Regions from separate parts of the Homo sapiens genome. Here region 1 is linked to region 2. The links are contacts of gene promoters, found by promoter capture Hi-C in human tissues and cell types (Jung and others, 2019). All regions are on one chromosome and are shown on one strand. The core of a region is centred on a gene start or on the middle of the fragment in contact, and the rest is flanking DNA. Distances in the headings are between cores, read along the strand shown.

Evidence for each region. The method cuts DNA at HindIII sites, captures the fragments that hold promoters and counts their contacts. A contact is called where the count stands out against the background at its distance.
Region 1: a fragment that was not itself captured here is called in contact with the fragment with the promoter of KCNK3 in region 2 in 4 of the 25 tissues and cell types used here (aorta, heart right ventricle, neural progenitor cells and 1 more).

What each region holds. Positions count from the first base shown.
Region 1 is chr2:26,735,767-26,742,273 of GRCh38, forward strand. No RefSeq gene overlaps it. Among named protein-coding and RNA genes, the nearest start is that of SLC35F6, 25 kb to the right of the region's middle. RefSeq lists enhancers at 2,168-2,668, 2,669-3,169. The HindIII fragment of the contact is 8,347 bases long and covers 1-6,507 here.
Region 2 is chr2:26,690,532-26,696,959 of GRCh38, forward strand. KCNK3 (potassium two pore domain channel subfamily K member 3) reads left to right here and starts at 2,191. Exons shown (of 2, transcript NM_002246.3): 1 at 2,191-2,627. The coding sequence starts at 2,345. The HindIII fragment of the contact is 34,558 bases long and covers 1-6,428 here.

The sequences.
Region 1 (6,507 bases), core at 2,346-4,845, 47 kb after region 2:
CAGGAGGCGGAGGTTGCAGTGAGCCGAGATTGCGCCATTGCACTCTAGTCTGGGTGACAACAGCAAAACTCTGTCTCAAAAACAAAAAACAAAACAAAACAAAACAAAAAGAACAACGCTGTGGTTTAAGTGAGGATTAACACCCCTGTTTTACAGATTACAAAACTACAGTTTAGAAAGACCCAAGGTCCTGCAGGCAGGGACTGTTCCACATTCACCCTGTATGTGAAGCACTGGGCAGAGCCACAGGCATTTCCATGGTGATGGATGTGCTGGGCCAGGGCTGCAGCCCAGTCACAATAGCTCTGGGCCAGCAGTGTCCCGCTGTTCACCAGCCTCCCAGCTCACTGGGCAGCTTCCCATGGGTGGAGGAGCCCCCAGGTGGACACGGTTCACAGAACCCATCATCCAAAGGAGACAGGAGTTAGGAACACTTCACCCACTTCACCACATGTCCTGAGCAAACCCTGCCCAGAGCCTAGACTCGCGACCAACGGCAGCAAAATGTTCAGCCAATGACCTCTGCCCTTTGGCTGGAGGAGACCAAGGTTCCTGGGGAAAAGGTCATGCCTTTGACCGGGCTGACTCCCCAAATCAACACTCTCCCACAGTTGTTTCCTGGAAGAGGAAACACGTGACCAGGCCACTACTGACTATGGAATACATGCTGGACAATGGGAGTGAGAGGGCCCCCAGAGACCCTTGCCACCTTTCCCCATGCTCTTTGCCCTTGTTCAAACAGGCACTGGGAGCAGAGCAGTGAGCTCATTTCAAAGTAGACATCCAACCTGGGAAAAAGATGCCATCTCCCCTTCCTGCAGTTTCTATGAGTGATACCTGGGAGCCTGCAGCTCCAACTCTGCCAGGTTTCCTCTCTGAGGCTGACAACCCACAACTAGAGGGATCCTCCTTCTTTTCTTTTAGTTATCCAGGCTGGGGAGAACTGAGAGCATCTCTTTGTCCTTGGCTGTGCATACTGGTGGCAAATTCCAAGACAAGAGAAAAAATCAGTGTCTGTTAACCTTTTTTTTTTTTTTTTTTTTGAGATGGAGTCTCACTCTGTGGCCCAGGCTGGTGTGCGGTGGCATGATCTCAGCTCACTGCAACCTCCGCCTCCCGGGTTCAAGCAATTCTCTTGCCTCAGCCCCCTGAGTAGGTGGGATCACAAGCACCTGCCACCACACCTGGCTAATTTTTGTATTTTTAGTAGAGACGGGGTTTCGCCATGTTGGCCAGGCTGGTCTTGAACTCCTGACTTCAGGTGATCCGCCCGCCTCCACCTCCCAAAGTGCTGGGATTGCAGGTGTGAGACACCATGCCCAGCCTGTTACCTTTTGAGCCAGGCCTCTCCTGTGCCGAAGCTGAGCAGTTACCCTTTTTAATATCAGCGCCAGACTGCACTTTAGTGCCACTGAGCAGCTCCAGGCCTTTGATGAGGCTTCAGGTGTTGAAGCCTGGTTCCACATTAAATCTCTTCCTGCTCTCTCCTGGCCCCACATCACCCACTAATTTGGTAATATAGCCTTCTGTGCCATTACTCAAGCCTTTGATGAAAATATCAGAGGACAGAATCAGATAAGGGACCCTTAATTCAGGGTGACATTTATTCTGGCGTGTTCTTGGTGAACTGTTGCTGGCTCTGGCTACTCATCACTCCTTTTATCTGTTCTTGAAAATTATCTGTTTAATCAAAGCCAGCAGGTGGCTGGGCTCCAGTCACATCAGCACAGCTTCCTAGTCCCTAGATGTCAGTGACCTGGAGATTTGAACTTGCTAAAGATAGAAGGTGCTTCCTGGCTGGGCGCGGTGGCTCATGCCTCTAATCCCAGCACTTTGGGAGGACAAGGCGGGCAGATCACGAGGTCAGGAGTTCGAAACCAACCTGACCAACATGGTGAAACCCTGTCTGTACTAAAAATACAAAAATTAGCAGGGAGTGGTGGTGCGCACCTGTAATCCCAGCTACTCAGGAGGCTGAGACAGGAGAATCGCTTGAACCCAGGAGGCGGAGGTTGCAATAAGCCGAGATTGCGCCACTGCGAGACTCTGTCTCAAAAAAATAAAAATAAAAATAAAAATAAAAAAGGCACTTCCTTCCCTGACTAAGCTTTCACCCTTTCTCCCCCAGCCACCACCACTTTATCTGGGCTTCTTCATTTAGCCAAGCTCTGCCCAGCCCAAACCCCATCCCTAGCTCCTGACCTGGGCATGGCCCTTCCCAGCCCGTTCCCAGCTCAGACTTGAGCCCCTTCCTCTCTCAGGCACCTGTCCTGTCCTTGAAGAGAGGGAGCAAGAGGGCTGTCCCTTATCACTCAGGACAGCCTCCAAGGACTGAAATGTGCCACAGGAAACTTGATGGCCAGGGCTCTTAGATCAGTTGGGGCTGAGGTGTGTGGAGCAAACAATAGATATGAAGCATGTGCGAGGAGCTGGGCTAGGAGTGCTACTCAATTCTCCCAACACCCCTGCAGAGGGAGGTACAATTATCCCCATCCAGAGGTGAGGAGACTGGGGCTCAGGGAGGTCACCTTACTTATCCAAGGTCACCCAAGTGGCAGAACCAGGTTTCGAATCCAAGGCCACATGGCTCCACCTTCCACATCCATCCAGCCACCACAGTCTCTGGCCCTTGGGGCCACATTGTTTTCTTTGCCTTCCCAGGTGTGCCCCCCAACCTCATCCCTGCCCCTGAGCAAATGGGGATCCCAGATGCTGCTTCAGCAGCTTCTGGAAGGCAGAGTAAGCCAGAGCCCATCCCTTCCTGATCCTCCCTTCCCAGAGGGAGCAGCAGGTTGGTGGGGTGACATCAGGCTGTGGGGGAGCCACTTCATTGTTCCTGAGACCGAAGTGATTTGGAGTTAATCTCCAAATCTGGTGCCACAGACACAATAGGAACCCACTGCCACCGCCCCCTCCAGCCTTATCATGGTGAACAGATGGGCAGACCCCTCTCCGGGGTCTAAGTAGGGCATTGCTGAGGTTGCTGGGAGGCAGGGAGGGAGGCCAGTTGGCCATGGTGGGGGAAGGGGACAGTGGAGACAGTAGGGGTGGGACAAACCCAGCCCCACCCCACCCTTCCCTAGCCCCCCAGGGTGGATGGGATTCAAGCGTCAGCGCTCTGCTGCCACAATGGGCTGGCTCCAGCAGATCCTCAACACGCATTTCAGGGGACCCATGCACCCAGTCAGGCGACCATACAGACAATGCTTCAGGTCCTTTCTAGCTCCAAATTCTGTAGCCTAAGCTCACCGGAGCTGAGGGTCTACAAACTTACCACTTGAATTCCAGAATGAGGCTTGGGCAGTGCAGAGCCCAGCACCCCCAGGTCCTGAGCAGGCCCAGCCTCTGCCATTGGCCCTCACTGTCACAGGAGCACAGCATTAACAGAGAAAAATGAAGGAAGCCAACTGTTAAAGCCAAGGGCCCCTAGGAACTGTGAGTCCAATGCTTCATGTTTCAGAAGAGAACAGTAAGACAAAGAGGGGAGGGAGGACGGGCGCGGTGGCTCACGCCTATAATCCTAGCACTCTGGGAGGCCAAGGCAGGCAGATCACCTGAGGTCAGGAGTTCGAGACCAGCCTGGCCAACATGATGAAACCCCGTCTCTACTAAAAATACAAAAAAGTTAGCCGGGCGTGGTGGCGGGTGCCTGTAATCCCAGCTACTCGGGCGGCTGAGGCAGGAGAATCACCTGAACCCAAGAGGTAGGGTTGTAGTGAGCCAAGAATGCACCATTGCACTCCAGCCTGGGCGACAAGAGTGAAACTCCGTCTCACAAAAAAGAGGGAGGGAATGGGCCTCTGGGCTCCCTGGCTAGCGCTCTCCCCTATCTGCACCAGCTTCAAAACTCTATCTGTAACAGGCCAAAACTGGAAACAGCCTGCGTGTCCATCCACAGGGAAATGGATACATTAGCCGGGTATATGTGTGGCAAGGAATACAATACAGCCATGAAGAGGAAGAAGCTATTGAAACACACAAAAAGCAGAAGGAGTCAGACAAACAGGGGCACATATGGAAGGATTCCATTACTCTAAAGTTCCGGAAAACAGAAGCTAATCTAGAGGGGCAGAAAGCAGATGAACAGTTGCCCTGGCCCAGGGGAGGAGGCTGGGATTAAAAAGGTGAGCAGGCCAGGCGCAGTGGCTCACGCCTGTAATCCCAGCACTTTGGGAGGCCGAGGCGGGTGGATTCCTTGAGCCCAGGAGTTCAAGACCAGCTGGGCAACATAGTGAGACCCAATCTCTACTAAATAATCAAAAAAATTAGCCAGGTGTGGTGGCACGCACCTATGGTCCCAGCTACTCAGGAGGCTGAGAAAGGAGGATCACCCGAGCCCAGGAAGTCTAGGCAGCAGTGAGCCATGATTGTGCCACTGCACTCCAGCCTAGATGAGAGTGAGACACTGTCTCAAAAAAAAAAAGTTGAGGGGGCAGGGGGCGGGGAGCAGGAGGGGAGCAAGGGAAGGTTTGGGGCGAAGGATGCATTTGCTCTCTGTTATGGCTTCACATGTATATACATCTGTCAACTTACCAAATTCTGCATTTTAAATATGTGTAGTTTATTTTATGTCAGTTTTATCTCAAAGAAGCTGTTTAGGAAAAAACAAACCATAGAGGCTTTGCACACGGCCCAGCAGATGAGCTAAGCACTCCCACCTACACCCATTTTGTTCTGATGGCCACGGTAGGGGGTGTAAGTCCCCCATGCCTCTTTATGAGAGGGTCAGCGGGGAGGCCATCAATGCTTCTGGTCAACTTCTGCCCACCCCAGACCAGGCCAGCTGTCGGCACAGGTGTCGCTAGTGTCACTCGAAGCTGGACACATATCAGTATATGGATGTAACAAGCAACCATGAGGTCCCCATGGGGTGTTGCTGGCACAAGCCAGACATCAAGCAAAGGTCAATGGGGCAGGAGCTAATCTAAAACACTGTGCCTCTGCCTAGGCAAACAGGGTCTCTCAGGCCCTAGCAGGCTGAGGGTAAATGGAAAATCCCCAGAGCCCATGAAACCCCATTTCTTTGGCTGTTTCTTCGCCTATTAAAATTACTCTCCCATCTTTTTCGAGGAGTCCCAAAGGGTCTCATCCCATCTAAACCACTATGGGGTAACCTCTGCCTAGGCTGGCACGCACACCAGGGTGAGGGACAAGGCGCCATGTGGCCCAATCGTTCTGCCACCTGCCGCTTGGGGCTGGAGCTGCTCAAGGAGACAGGCTCCTCCTCGCCTACAGCTGTCAAGACAGGCGGACCATCCTGCTGCTCAGGCTGCAGAGTCTGCCCCAATGAGCACAGTCCTCAAACCCCACCCACCTACTGTGACACTCCCTCCTGCAACTTCAGAGCATGTTGTCTGGTGCTCCAAACTTTCGTGGTGGGTTTAGTGAAAACGCTTTGGATTTGTACTCACAGCCCCCTCTCTGTGACTTAGCCCTCTCTCCTGAGTGCATGAGGACTGGGCTGTGTGGCAGGAACCATACAAACCTCAGTGCTATGCTCTGCTATGCTTTTATTTCCCTTGTGGTCTGCCTGCTTCCCTTCAGATGAGGCTGGCCAAGAAGCACCACAGACCCTGATGCAAAATTGCCCCTAAAGCACTTCAGCCCGACCAGTCAGGTCTGCATTCCTGGATAAGCCCAATGCTGACCCCATGGGGACCCCCACTCCCTTCTCCAGTACTAGGAGCTGGGCCCCAGGGAGGGACTTGGATAGGACCCGCTCGTGTCTGCCACCATGAGTGTGAGCACAGGGCTGATGGAGCTTTGCAGAGAGAAATGAAGGTCAAGGTGTGTGGGCTGAGTGCCAAGTGAGACAGAGAGGGCTCCAAGGCTGGGGAGGTGTGGACATGGGGCCGGGGCTGGGCCTGACTGAGCCTGGAAGGAATGGTGGGATCTAGCACATGGCAACAGCATTTCAGGTGTAGGAAATTGAGCAAAGGCCCCATAGGGGAATGTTCCCAGAGTGCTGGAGAACAGTGAGAAGAGCCCGGGGATCTCCTTAGGAAGGGGAGGGAGTGGGCTCCATGAGTCCGGGGCTGTGTCCATCTCATTTGTGGTTTTATCTCTGGAGCTTCATGCCATACCTACACTTAATAGGCATCAAAGATGGTTGTGAAAGTGTGGGGAGGAGGGAAGGAGTAAGGAAAGGCAGGGGAGAATGGAAGAGACATTGGAGGCATCCACCAGACAGGATGTTCAGCTCTTAGCTGTTACTCACAGGCAACAGGGAGCCAGCAAAAGTTTCCGAGTGGAGGAAAATTTCATGGAATTTAGAGTTTCTAGAAGATTCACCTGGCATCACTCACTCCTGACAGATGTTCGTAGCCCAATGCCTGCGCTCTGTAAGATCACTCTCTCTACACCAGCCTAGGCAGGGGAACGGCAGGAGGGCACATAGCAAGCCCTTCTCTGTGGGCTGGGAGGGCCCGGGATGCCCCAGCTGTTGCTTCCAGAGCTGAGAACAAGCTACTCCCCTGCCTGGCAGGGAGGCCAAGGAGAGCCTGTGGC
Region 2 (6,428 bases), core at 941-3,440:
AACCCTCTTGCTCATCTAGACAGGCTTTGGGGGAATTCGCTTCTGGGGTGACTGTCACCAGGAGCCAATACATCAGAAATGCACAGAACCTAACTTGTACCTTCACCTCTGAGAAGCTGGGAAAGGCAGTACTTTCCTTCCAGGGAGCCAGAAGATGCAAAGGGGAAAAGCCTGCAATAGGCTGAGTTGCTGGTCAGAGGGCAAGACCAGAAATTCTGTGCCTGCAAAGAAACAAAGATCTTCCCTTGAAGAGGGAGGGGGAACATGGTGCTATAAATGTAGGACCCTCCCATTGGGCTCTGAAGTCATTAGAGAGCCTCATATCATCTGATTTGCACACATGTGTTCTTCTTTGATCTCTCAAAACAAATGGTTCAAGACGCGGGTAGAGCTAATATTATTATCTATTCCACTTTACAAATTGAAAAAAAAAAAAGAGAGACTCAAGGAGTCATGGCAAAGAGCATGGGCTTAAGAGGCAGACAGACTGAAGCCTCTTCCCAGCTGAGTGAAATTTACTGATTCTCTACATTGCCTTTAGCCTCAGTTTCCCCATCTATAAAATAGGCATGACCACACCTACCTTTCAGGATTGTGGTGAGGACCAGAGATGATGAATCCCTGACACACAACAGATGCTTAATAAATACTTGTTGAAGGAATGAAGGGGTTGGTGGCACTTCTGGGGTGTCATTGGAGGAGTGTAGTGTCCGGCAGTGACAGGTCAGCCCAGCCTGTGGGTAGACAGTGCTCCAGCTTCTGGCTGACTGCCTCCTGAGTCTGCTCTCAGTCAGGGGCCTTGGTGTCTCTTCCCTGTCTCTCTGCCTGGCCCATGCCAGGGTCCTGTGAAGGACTTTTTAACCCTTCTTGGCACTGAGATTTGCATTCCAATCATTCTGCTCACTCAGCCCATCCAAGTCTGGAGTTGTTTAGAGCTGGGCAAGGCCTGTGGGATCATCTGCTACGACACCTCGTTGAAAAGATAAGGAAACAAGGCTCTGAGAGGGTCAGTAATGCCTGAGTTTCCACTACCCTTCCCACCTCACCACCATAGCCACCATGTTTGACAAATGAAGAAACTGAGGCATAGGGACCCCCTCTCCTGCCCCAGTTCCCGCAGTCTGCCAGTGAGCCTCCTGCTCTGGGCCCCACCTGCCCAATTCCAGCTAGATCCCGGTTCTGCTGGGATGCCCTAAGGTGGTGGCAGGTGCTATCTCTGGCAACTCAGCCTAAGCCCAGCCTGGTGCACGGGTGCAAGACAGGAACCATGGGAGTCGGGACAGCCTAGAAGCCCCTGGGAGCGAAGCAGGAGGCCTAGACTCCCAGCCTGTGCCTTCTCAGCCAGTTCCAAGAACTGTGCTGACCTGGGAAGGCACACATTGCCTGAGAACAGGGCTTTCCCTTGGGTGTCAGCTCATGTGTGCCCAGGTCCACAGCTGGGCCCTGCCTGCTTCCAAGACAGCCAGAGTCTGGCCCAAGGGAGGAAGGAGTGTGGCCTGGGAGGAAGGAACGCTTGGCTGAGTCCCAGTGCTGTCACGAAATCACTGCGTGCCCATGCGTGTCACTTGACCTCTCTGGGCCTCCATTTCCTCATCCATAGGATAAGGGCAGGACAGCGAGGCCCCAAGTGCCTCCTGGCTGCAATATGCTGTGATGAGGGTGGAGGGTGGGGTGGGGAGGGGCTCGCTCTGCCTTCCTTGCCTTCCTGTCTGTTTCTCTGTCATTAGTTTATCTCCAGCAATCCAGGCCTCTCTGTCTCAGTCTGTTGCTCTCTCTGTTTCCATCTTTTGCTCTGTATTTTTCTGCCCGCCTCTCTTCTTTTTCTGTCTGAGTGCACCTCTGATTTTATCTCCTCCTCTGTCACACAGCCCCCTTCCCTCAGTCCTACACTGCCTTTCTCCCATTCTCCGTAGTTATCAGCGTTTCGCTGTCTAGTTTTCTCTGTCTCTCGGGCTCGCTCTCTCTCTCTTTCTCTCTCTCTGTCCTGCCCGGGCTCTCTCGCGGCCGCCCCTCCCGTCCCCTCCGCCAGCCCCCCTCCTCCCTCCTCGGCGCGTCTCCCCAGTCCTTATTTGGCTGGGCGGGAGGGCTGGCGGGAGGAGGCGGCCTGCGGGCGGGGGGCGGGGGGCGGGCGCGGGGCCGGGCGGAGGAGGGCGGTGGGTGGTGCTGAAGGGACAGCTCCGCGGCGGCGGCGGCGGCGGCGGCCCCGGGCGCTGAGCGGGTGCCCGGCGCGGAGAGCGGCGAGCGCAGCCATGCCCCAGGCCGCCTCCGGGGCAGCAGCAGCGGCGGCCGGGGCCGAGGCGCGGGCCGGGGGCGCCGGGGGGCCGGCGGCGGCCCGGGCGGGACGATGAAGCGGCAGAACGTGCGCACGCTGGCGCTCATCGTGTGCACCTTCACCTACCTGCTGGTGGGCGCCGCGGTCTTCGACGCGCTGGAGTCGGAGCCCGAGCTGATCGAGCGGCAGCGGCTGGAGCTGCGGCAGCAGGAGCTGCGGGCGCGCTACAACCTCAGCCAGGGCGGCTACGAGGAGCTGGAGCGCGTCGTGCTGCGCCTCAAGCCGCACAAGGCCGGCGTGCAGTGGCGCTTCGCCGGCTCCTTCTACTTCGCCATCACCGTCATCACCACCATCGGTAACGGCTCGCCGGGCGGGGGGCGGGAACCCAGGGCTGGGCGCGGGGCTCCGGGAGTCGTCCGGGGCCGGCTGGGGCTGGGGGCGGGGGCTCCCCCGAGAGGGGCTGGGCGCCGAACCCTGCGCTCGCAGAAACCCGAGTTCAGCCTGGCGTGTGTGCTCCGCGGGGACGGAACTCGGGGAGGCGTCGATTCCTGGCTCCGGACCTGACTCTCCGGCCGGGCCAGCCCTAACTTGGCCCTGCCATGTTGCATAGGCCCCCAGGGACTCCGAAGTGTGTGAGAGGGGCAGGGACGACCGGCGGAGGCTCGGGCAGGAGGGGTGTGGCCGGGCCAGGCCCTGAACAGGGCGCTGAGAGTGAGCGGCGGGAGAGCGCCAGTGCTCCGTATCCCTGAGGATCGGCTTCCACAGCCTAGCAGGTCTACACCTGCTGGGCTCTGGGGAGGCATGAGGATGTCGGAATGCGGCACTTCGGGGCACTTGGGGCCACCCTATAACGGCGGCTGTGAGTGTACGTGTGTCTGCGTGTTTCAGCTCCAGGAGTTTGGTCGCCACCAGTCAGTGCCTGTGATTTTCTCAGAGCGGCAGAATTGGTGCGGGAAGCCAGATCTGGCCTTGTCAGCCTTCTTCTCTGCTGTCCCAGCAAAACAGTCACCTCACAGGAATAACCCCAGTTCTTTCCAAGCCAGGGCAGATCACCATGTAGGAGGCCACACGTACACCCAGACTGTCAGACAACACAGGCATAGGCACACATGCACACAGATACACACAGGCACTCACAGGGTACACACAGGGCGGGCACACACACACACACACACAGAGAGAGAGACAGAGAGAGAGAGAGAGAACAAACGTTGCCCAGGAAAGGAATCTCTAGCCAGGCCCTTGGTGGTGCTATTCAAAACTGTCCAGACGGGAATAACACCTTACCTGTCCCCAACACCCTATGATTTCAGCCCAGCTCCATCACTACCGTGATATATGACCTTGGGCAAGTCCCTTCCCCTGTCTGGGTCTCAGGCTCACCTCCAGACAAGGAGGGGTGGCCAAAATGATCTCAAGAGCTCCTCCCCAGCCCCGACGTGCTTGGATTCTGAGATGAAACCCACCTTCCCCCAAAGCCCATTGAGATGCCTCCAGAAGCAGTTTCCTCTGTCTTTACTGTTCCCTCTCCTCTCCCTAGTCCCCTTCCCTGCCTTGATCAGACTCCCAGGGGTTCGTTGCCACTTAGCGCAGCCCATGAAGATGGCATTGTTTTCCTGGGAGTCAACAGGAGCTGAGGGAGTAAAAGGCAGGACTAGACACTCTTCCTGCGGTCTATCCACTGCAGGACACTGTTCCAAGAATCTACGGCTCCCTGGGGACCATGGGGAGCTATGCTGTGTCGTTTCTGGATTCTTCTCTTGGAAGAGGGAGGAAAGGGCCCTGGGAGTGGATGTGGCCCAGCTGGGGCACCTCTGGGTCCTACTGGTCCTGTGAGTTTAGGATAGGATGATCAGACTTAGGTCTGCCCAAAGAGGAGCCCGCTTCCTGAAAAACACCAGCCCAGATTTGGTCTGCAGTCTCTTCCACTCTCACACCCCACTACTATTTGCCAGGGTTTCAGTAGCTGTTTAGCTGTCTGGAGAATCAAAAGAATCAGACTGAACATCTTTGGACCCTCTCTCTCCCTCTTTTCCACACGTCAAGCCTTCACGCGTGTCCCCTTTCCTTCTCAGGCCCATGGTCCCCAGCTTCATAGTAACCTCCCAACTGACCTCCCTGCCTACCCCACAACAAGGCATGCTCCCCTGGACAATGCTGCCAGAAAGAAAAACTCAGCTGTCACCAAACCAATTCCCTTCTTGGAATCCCTCAATGACTCTCCACTGTCCATGGAATCTGGTCTATGCTCCTTATCTCAAATTTTGAGGATCTCCATACCTGGCTCCAACCTCTATGTCTGACTTCACATCTCACTTCTTACTTATGTGATCCCTCTCGATAGCTGCCAACCTGTCCTCTGAGAATACCTTAAGTATGCCTGTCTGGCATGCCTTTTTCTCTGCCCTTTTTCTTTTCTTTTTTCTTTTTTTGAGAGAAAGAGTCTCACTCTGTCTCACCCAGGCTGGAATGCAGTGGTGTAATCATAGTTCAGCACAACCTCAAACCCCTGGCCTCAAGCGATCCTCTCACCTGGGCCTCCCAAAGTGCTGGGATTACAGGTGTGAGCCACTGCGCCTGGCTCTACCTTCTATTTATCTTGTCCATGCTAACCTTCCAGGTCCAGCTCAAATCCCCCCTCCTCCTCAAAGCCTCCCAGGCCACTGCTCTGGACAACTGCAGGTCTCACTGTGAGGATGATCTGGGTGACACGCTGTTGGCTGTTTTGAATGGTTATTTGCATTATAGGGGAAGTGTTTTGTCTCTTTGACCACACTGTACTCAACCTCCATGTGGGCAGGTCCTGCAGTTCCTGTCTCTGTGCTCCAAGTGCCAGCATAGTACCCAGAGGCTGTGAGCACACACAGAATGCTATTGATGGGTTTAAGGTGTGCAGAAATGAAAGGGTAGCATCCTTCCCTCTTCCTCTGCCGTTTCCCAAAGTGCTTGCAGTCCTCACCAAGAGAGACGCTAAAAGCCATGGGGGGAGAGGCAGACAGAGTGCGGTTCTGGTGATTATTTATTTATAAAGTGCTGGGCAAGAGGAAAGACAACATCAGACCACCCCCCTGGTTCTGTGGGGGCCCCTCCCTCCCTGCCCCACCTGACCATCCTGGCTTTGTGTTGCCTTCCACTGTGGCTATGCCACCTTGCTGGAAGCTGTCCACAGGGGCTCTGCTCTAAGAAAAACCTATTTGGGCTGTGATCAGATGGTAGAAAGGGGCCTTAGTTAGGCTGATAATGGCCCCAAACCCAAGGGCAGCAGCCTGTGTTCACCTGACCCCTTTGAAAACATGAATGAGTCTCATTCTGAGATACCGGGTGTCCCATTGGGATGGAATAATGACAGCACTTCCCATCATTTGCTACCTTAGTGATCACAATGCACTTGCATCTCTTGTCATGATTCTCAGTCTTCATGACTTGGTGAAGTTGCTGGGCAGGTATTGTTAGCTCTGCTGCATGGATGAAGGCGTGAAGGCTCAGGGAAGGGAAGCGGCTCCCCCAGTCACCCAGCTGGTAAGCAGCAGAGTCAGAGTGGGAAGCTGGGTCTTCTGACTCCAAGCCCAGTGCTCTTTCCCTGCTGGTCTTTTGGCTGCTTCCTTTGACTCCATATGCTATGAAGCTCAGACCCAGCCAGGCCTGACACAGCCAAGCCGTGCTTAGTGATGCCAGCTCACAGGGTGCTCATGGGCAGCCCTGATTGGTTGGAGGTCAGCAGGTTCTTTCTTAGTCATTCACCTGGTTAGTCACCGTCTCCACTGGCTGGAAGGATTCCTCCAGCTCCCTATCCCTGGTCTCCCAGCCAGGAAACCCTTCCTTTGCTGGTGCCCTAAGTTCACCCAACAGTAATAGAAAGTCATTTCTTAGGAAGTCTTAACCACTTTAGCTGTTGAGTCATTAAACTCCTCCAGGGCCCAAGCCTCATCTATTCATAGCTCAGAGGCTGTCAGAGCAGGAAGGGGCTTCGGAGATCAGCTGGTACCACCCCCTGCTCTGACAGATAAGGAGTCAGAGAGGTGACAGAAATCACACAGTCAGAGGGTAGCAAAAACCTAACCCCCAGTCCCCTACTCCTTCTACTTGTTCAGGATACTTATTTATTATTTTTATTAACAACAGCAGCAGCAACAACAATAACAATGGCAACCACCAT